Regions from separate parts of the Homo sapiens genome. Here region 1 is linked to region 2. The links are contacts of gene promoters, found by promoter capture Hi-C in blood cells and fetal thymus (Javierre and others, 2016). All regions are on one chromosome and are shown on one strand. The core of a region is centred on a gene start or on the middle of the fragment in contact, and the rest is flanking DNA. Distances in the headings are between cores, read along the strand shown. Region 1 has its middle 5.5 kb from the start of MOB2. Region 2 holds the start of MUC5B-AS1 (MUC5B antisense RNA 1).

What was found. Contacts are between HindIII fragments. The CHiCAGO score rates a contact against its expected background, and 5 or more counts as called.
Region 1: a fragment that was not itself captured here is called in contact with the fragment with the promoter of MUC5B-AS1 in region 2 in 1 of 17 cell types (M0 macrophages); the score reaches 5.1 in M0 macrophages.

What each region holds. Positions count from the first base shown.
Region 1 is chr11:1,490,139-1,494,368 of GRCh38, reverse strand. No RefSeq gene overlaps it. Among named protein-coding and RNA genes, the nearest start is that of MOB2, 5.5 kb to the right of the region's middle. The HindIII fragment of the contact is 246 bases long and covers 1,400-1,645 here.
Region 2 is chr11:1,247,942-1,251,236 of GRCh38, reverse strand. MUC5B-AS1 (MUC5B antisense RNA 1) reads left to right here and starts at 1,561. Exons shown (of 2, transcript NR_157183.1): 1 at 1,561-1,616. MUC5B (mucin 5B, oligomeric mucus/gel-forming) reads right to left here. Exons shown (of 49, transcript NM_002458.3): 31 at 1-3,295. The HindIII fragment of the contact is 25,137 bases long and covers 1-3,295 here.

The DNA of each region.
Region 1 (4,230 bases), core at 273-2,772, 240 kb before region 2:
GCTGTTGTCTCACTTTGGCAGCAGCATTATGCTGGTCCTCCTCCTCTGTTTTCTGAAAGAGTATGTGTATGGTTTGTATTATTTCTTACTTATATCGTGTGTAGAGTTCATCCGTAAGCCACCTGCACCCACCATTTCCTTGTAGAAAGATTTTTAATTATAAATTCAGATTTTCTACTTCTTTGTATGTCAGTTTTGGTAGCTTGTGTTTGTGAAAAATTTGTCTGTTTCATCTACATTTTCTCTTGGCATTCAGTTCCTTATAGTGCTTTGTTACCCGCTTAATATCTGTAGGATCTGTAGGAATGTCCCTTTCATTTCTGATATCGGTAATTTATGCCCTCTTCCTCTCTTGGCTCTCTGTCTCTTTTCTGCTTAGTCTGCTTGGGAAATTGATCTTTTTTTTTTTTTAAGTTTTCCAGGCTAACTTTGTGTTTAATTCTTCATTATTTGTCTATTTTTCATTTCATAGATTTCTGTTATTTCCTTCCACTTTGCATTTAATATGCACTTCCTTTTTCTGGCTTCTGAAGGTGGATGTATGAATCACTCATTTTAAGCCTTCTCTCCTAATATGAACATTTATAAATTTCTTCCTCAGCTGAGCTTTAGCTGCATTCTACACATTTTTATAAGTGATGTTTTTATTGTAATCTTCTCTTTAGCACTGTTTAATCTGATGTTCATTTCATCTCAAAAATTTCATTTTCGATGTATTCTTCAGTTCCAGGAATTTTTGTTTATTATTTTGTGGAGTTTCCGATTTTTTCAGAGCCCTAATTGCTTTGTTGATTATGTCCAACCTTTCCTCTAAATCTTTGGATATATTGGCCGGGCACAATGTCTCATGCCAGTAATCCCAGCACTTTTGGGAGGCCAAGGCGGACAGATTACTTTAGGTGAGGAGTTTGAGACCAGCGTAGCCAACATGGTGAAACCTCATCTCTACAAAAATACAAAAATTAGCTGTGCTTGGTGGCGTTCGCCTGTAATCCCAGCTGCTCTGGAGGCTGAGGCAGGAGAATCACTTGGGAGACAGAGGTTGCAGTGAGCCGAGATTGTGCCACTGCACTCCAGCCCGGGCAATAGAGGACACTGTCTAAATAAATAAATAAATCGTTGAATATATTTATTTCATTCTTTTAAAGTCTTTGTTTGTTACTTTCATTATCTTTGTTATCTCTAGGCCTGTTTCTGTTGACTTATTTTTCCTGGTTATGAGTTACATTTTTCTGCTTCACCTGTCTAGTAATTTTTTTGTACACTAGGTATTGTGGTAGCAATGTTGTTGAAAGTCTCAGTTCTGTTTTCCTCCCTTAAAGAGTAGTGTGGTTTGTTCTGGAAGGCAGTTAATTTGCTCTTGGTTAGCTAGGATCCGTTTGAGGCTTGTTTTTAAGCTTTATTATGCCAGGTCCAGAGAACCCCCTCACTCTGGGCTATTGTAGCCCAGTCCCCATGGCACAGCCATTGTGGAATCTCTGTTAAATCTATTCGCCCAAGGTGTCTCCAGTCTGGGTGTGGGAACACGTCTGTCTCCTGCCCCGTGTGGCCTCCAGAACCTCTCTTCCTCACGCTTCCCAGAGCTGTTCTCTGCCAGGTCTTGCAGATGTTCTCTCTGACACCCTCAGCTATTTGTCCAGAAGCTTCCTTGGATCCCTGTTGATGTTTTTAGAGTCCCTTCTCTGTGCAGCTCTGTCCTGACTGCCTCCTCATCCTGCAAATTTCAACAGCTCAGCGGCTTGAGACTTCCATCCCTGCCACCTCAGCTTCTCCAGACTGCAGGCCCCATGTGGTTTCACCATCCCCACCTGCAGCCTGAGAGGCTCCCAGTCATCGCCTGTGCGCAGGGGCCACCGTCCTGCACGGCGGTATCCTGGGTCTGAAGCCAAGCACTTCATATATTCTACCCAGTTTGTAGTTGTTGACAGTGGAGGTGAGGTCCAGTGTCAGTTACTCTGTCATGAGTGGAAGCAGAAATCTCTTCTTTCCTTTATTATTTTAAGAAATTCTTCCTTCCCATCTTCTACTTGGACATCATGGTGGTTTTTGTATTCTAATTTAGACTTCATTTCAAAAATGGTTTATCCTCTCATTCCTGATTCTTATTTTGCCTCTTTTTTCAAATATTTTCTTTTTCTTTTTTCTTTTCTTTTTTGAGACAAAGTCTCGCTCTTCTCCCCCAGGCTGGAGCGCAATGGTGCAATCTCGGCTCACTGCAACGTCCATCTCCTGGGTTCAAGCGATTCTTCTGCCTCAGCCTCCCAAGTAGCTGGGATTACAAGCGCCTGCCACCACGCCCAGCTAATTTTTGTATTTTTAGTAGAGACAGAGTTTCACCTTGTTGGCCAGGCTGGTCTTGAACTCCTGACCTCAGGTGATCCACCTGCCTCAGCCTCCCAAAGTGCTGGGATTACAGGCATGAGCCACTGCACCTGGCCTCAAATATTTTCTTAAATTGCATTGTTTCCCTGATTGTCTTATTGGGTTGTAGTCTTCATCTGTGTTATGTGTCTTCATCTGTGTTGTGTCTTCATCTTTGTTGTGTGTCTTCATCTGTGTTCTGTGTCATCTGTGTTGTGTGTCTTCGTCTGTGTTGTGTGTCTTTGTGTGTCTTCATCTGTTATGCGCGTGTCTTCGTCTGTGTTGTGCGTCTTCATCTGTTGTATGTCTTCACCTGTGTTGTGTGTCTTCACCTGTGTTAATGTGTGTGTCTTCATCTGTGTTGTGTCTTCGTCTGTGTTGTGTGTCTTCGTCTGTGTTGTGTGTCTTCACCTGTGTTATGTGTGTGTCTTCGGCTGTGTTGTATATCTTCGTCTGTGTTGTGTGTCTTTGTCTGTGTTGTGTGTCTCCGCCTGTGTTATATGTATGTCTTCGTCTGTGTTGTGTGTCTCTGCCTGTGTTATGTGTATGTCTTCGTCTGTGTTGTGTGTCTTCATCTGTGTTGTGTGATTTCGTCTGTGTTATGTGTGTGTCTTTCTGGGATGTTTTAATTGTCAGTGGGAGAGTGTTACTCTCCTCTATTCTTCTTGATTTTCATTGGACTCAACTGTGAAACTTTCCTGCTTGCTTTTAAGTGACCCCACTTTCCCTGTGCCTTTGTGAGGGTGCCGGGGGCATTGTTTTGCTGCTTCCGTAGCTTTTGAGCTCCTTCTTCTGTTGTTTTCACAAAGTGATTAAAAACACGAAGCTCTCCACGAGTCTCCTTGTTGGAGGGGAGGCTACAGACGAGCAAGTGGAGGGGCCAGTGTGGTCCAGGCAGTGATGGCTGCAGGGGTGGGCTGGAGACCTCAGGGGAACCCCTGCTTAGCTTAGTATAGATACAAATGTCGACATGTGGGTGGAGATTGAGGCGTATGAGTGCATGTGTGTATACACATGTGCCTCCGTGTTCTTCCAGCTGAGAGGGCCTGGAAGCAGTGACACCCACTAGCAACGAGCCCACCCAGTGCTCTGATCTTAGTGTTTTCGTTTCTCGTTTGTGTAGACCCAGGCTGGAGTGAGGTGGTGTAGTCATGGTTCACTGCAGCCACCAACCTCCTGGGCTCAAGTGATCCTCTCACTTCAGCTCCTCAGTTGTTGAAACCACAGGCACATGCCACTATGCCCAGATAATTAAAAAAAAAAAATTGTTTTAGAAATGGGGGTCTTGCTGTGTTGCCCAGGCTGATCTGAAACTCCTGGCCTCAAGCGATTCACTTACCTGGGCCTCTCAAAGTGCTCTTGAGATTCCAGATGTGAATCAACGTGCCTGACCAGGTCTCAGTTTTGAATTCATTCATTACTGTTTTGGGGCAGGGTCTCGCTCCGTCACCCAGGCTGGAGTGCAGTGGTGTGATTATGGGTCACAGCAGCCTCAATCTCTTGGGCTCAAGTGATCCTCCTGCCTCAGCCTCCCATGTAGCTGGGAACACAGACACACACCACTATGCCTGGCTAATTTTTACATTTTTTGTAGAGATGGGGTCTCCCTTTATTGCCCAGGCTGGTCTCAAACTCTTGGGCTCAAGTGATGGTCCCTTCTTGGCCTCCCAAAATACTGGGATTACAGGCATGAGCCACCATGCCTGGCCATTTTTTTTTTTTTTTTTTTTTTTGAGACGGAGTCTTGCTCTGTCGCCCAGGCTGGAGTGCAGTGGTGCGATCTCAGCTCACTGCAAGCTCTGCCTCTCGGGTTCACGCCATTCTCCTGCTTCCGCCTCCCGAGTAGCTGGGACTACAGGCGCCTGCCAC
Region 2 (3,295 bases), core at 312-2,811:
TCTCTGGAGTAGAGGAGGTGTGGATTGTGGACATGGTGGACATGGGTGTGGTGGTCTGTGCTGGGACGGTCCACGTGGTCCACAGGGTGGAGGAGGGGATGGGTGTAAAGCTGGTAGCTGTGGATTTTGTGGCTGTGCTTGTCAGCACTGGAAGGGTGGTTGCAGTCCTTGGACTGGAGGAGGAAGTGGCTTTGGAGCTGGTGGCTGCGGGTGTGGTGGCCGTGCTGGTCAGCACTGGGGTGATGGGTGTTGTCCCTGGAGTTGAGGAGGGGTTGGTGGTGGAGCCGGTGGCCGTGATCGTAGTGGCCGTGGTGGTCAGTGATGGGGGAGTACCACTGGTCTGTGTGCTAGAGGAGGGTGTTGCCATAGAACCAGTGGCCACAGTTGTGGTGGTGGTGGTCAGCACTCTGGCGGTGTGGGTGGTCCCCGGGATGGAGGAGGGGGTCACCGTGGAGCCACTGGTTGTGGGTGTGGTGGTTGTGGGTGTGGTGGTTGTGCTGATCCACACTGGAGGCGTGAGTGCCGTCCCTGGGCTGGAGGAGGGGGTGGCTGTGAAGCCCGTGGTTGTGGTAGTCGGCACTTTGGTAGTGTGAGCTGTTCCTGGGGTGGAGGAGGGGGTGGCCACAGAGCCGGTGGCCCCGGTTGTGGTGGCCGTGGCGGTAAGCACTGTGGAGGTGTGGACAGTCTCTGGAGTGGAGGAGGGTGTGGCTGTGGACATGGTGGCCGTGGGTGTGGTGGTCTGTGATAGGCGGGTCCAGGTGGTGCCCAGGGAGGAGGAGGGGATGGCTGTAAAGCTGGTAGCTGTGGGTGTGGTGGCTGTGCTTCTCAGTGCTGGAAGGGCAGTTGCAGTCCCTGGACTGGAGGAGGGAGTGGCTTTGGAGCTGGTGACTGTGGGTGTCGTGGCCGTGGTGCTCACATGTGGGGTGCCAGCAGTTGCCTGGGTGGAGGAGGCGGTGGCCGTGGATCCGGTGGGCACCGTCACGGTGGCTGTAGTGCTCGGCTCTGTGAGGATCCAGGTGGTCCCTGGGGTGGAGGACGGGGTGGCCGTGGATCCAGTGGACGCAGTCGTAGTGGCTGTTGTGGTCAGCTCTGTGAGGATCCAGGTGGTCCCTGGGGTGGAGGACGGGGTGGCCGTGGGGCCAGTGGCTGCAGTTGTAGTGGCTGCTGTGGTCAGCTCTGTGAGGATCCAGGTCGTCCCCGGAGTGGAGGAGGGGGTGGACGTGGAACTGGTGGCCCTTGTCGTGGTGGCCTTCGTGGTCAGCACTGTGGAGGTGTGGGTGGTCTCCGGAGTGGAGGAGGGGTGGATTGTGGACATGGTGGCCACGGGTGTGGTGGTCTGTTCTGGGAGGGTCCCGGTGGTCCCAAGGGTGGAGGAGGGGATGGGTGTAACGCTGGTAGCTGTGGATTTGGTGGCTGTGCTTGTCAGCACTGGAAGGGTGGTTGCAGTCCTTGGACTGGAGGAGGAAGTGGCTTTGGAACTGGTGGCTGTGGGTGTGGTGGCCGGGCTGGTCAGCACTTTGGGAGGGGGAGCTGTTCCCGGGGTGGAGGACGGGGTGGCCGTGGATCCAGTGGATGCAGTCGTAGTGGCTGTTGTGGTCAGCTCTGTGAGGATCCAGGTCGTCCCCGGAGTGGAGGAGGGCATGGCCGTAGAGCTGGTGGCCGGGGTGCTGGGGCAGTGGCCGTAGTTGCAGCAGAACACACGGATTTCATAGTTGAAGCACATCTTGAACTTCCCCACCTGCTCACGGTTCCTGCAGACCAGGCCAAAGTCCAGGCTGCATTCCACGACCTGGCCCAACTCCCCCAGGGGGACACCAGGCTGGGCCTGGGCACGGCACTCGAGGCCCAGGGGCTGCTCACAGACGGCCCCTCCGGCCGCACGGATGTTGGAGTAGGTGTCAAAGTCCCCGCCAGAGGGCCCCGGCATGGGGTAGCTGTAGTCCAGCCACTCTGACCAGGCACACTGGGGCTCACAGCCCGTGGTCACCACCGTGGTTATGGGGGCCGATGTGGGGCTGCTGGGCAGCAGGGTCGAGGTGCGGGTCTTGCTGGGTGTGGCCGTGGCCGTGGTCCTGGAGGTGGCCGTGGTGTGGCCCGGGGTGGTCGTCCCTGGGGAAGGGGGTGACTCGGTGGTCCTGCTGCTAGGGTGAGGGCTGGACAGGGCTGGAGTCGAGTGCTGGGTGGTACCGGTGGTTGCTGCTGGGGTGTGGGAAGTCCCCGTGGAAGGCTCTGTGATGTGGGTGGTGCCCAAGGTGCCTGAGGTGGCCGAAGTCCAGGCTGTGCGCACCGTGTGGGGACTGCTGGGGGACAGGGATCGCCCGTGTGTGGTGGCCGTGGTGTTCGGCACTGGGGGTGTGTGGGTGGTCCCTAGGGCAGAGGAGGGAGTCACTGTGCTGCTGGTGGCTGCAGGTGTGGTGGCGGTGGTGGTCAGCACTGGGGGGATAGGTGTTGTCCCTGGAGTTGAGGAGGGGTTGGTGGTGGAGCCGGTGGCCGTGATCGTAGTGGCCGTGGTGATCAGTGATGGGGGAGTACCACTGGTCTGTGTGCTAGAGGAGGGTGTTGCCATAGAACCAGTGGCCACAGTTGTGGTGGTGGTGGTCAGCACTGTGGGGGTGTGGGTGGTCCCCGGGACGGAGGAGGGGGTCACCGTGGAGCCACTGGTTGTGGGTGTGGTGGTTGTGCTGATCCACACTGGAGGCGTGCGTGCCGTCCCTGGGCTGGAGGAGGGGGTGACTGTGAAGCCCGTGGTTGTGGTAGTCGGCACTTTGGTAGTGTGAGCTGTTCCTGGGGTGGAAGAGGGGGTGGCCACAGAGCCGGTGGCCCTGGTTGTGGTGGCCGTGGTGGTAAGCACTGTGGAGGTGTGGGCAGTCTCTGGAGTGGAGGAGGGTGTGGCTGTGGACATGGTGGCCGTGGGTGTGGTGGTCTGTGATAGGCGGGTCCAGGTGGTGCCCAGGGAGGAGGAGGGGATGGCTGTAAAGCTGGTAGCTGTGGGTGTGGTGGCTGTGCTTCTCAGTGCTGGAAGGGCGGTTGCAGTCCCTGGACTGGAGAAGGGAGTGGCTTTGGAGCTGGTGACTGTGGGTGTCGTGGCCGTGGTGCTCACATGTGGGGTGCCAGCAGTTGCCTGGGTGGAGGAGGCGGTGGCCGTGGATCCGGTGGGCACCGTCACGGTGGCTGTAGTGCTCGGCTCTGTGAGGATCCAGGTGGTCCCTGGGGTGGAGGACGGGGTGGCCGTGGATCCAGTGGACTCAGTCGTAGTGGCTGTTGTGGTCAGCTTTGTGAGGATCCAGGTCGTCCC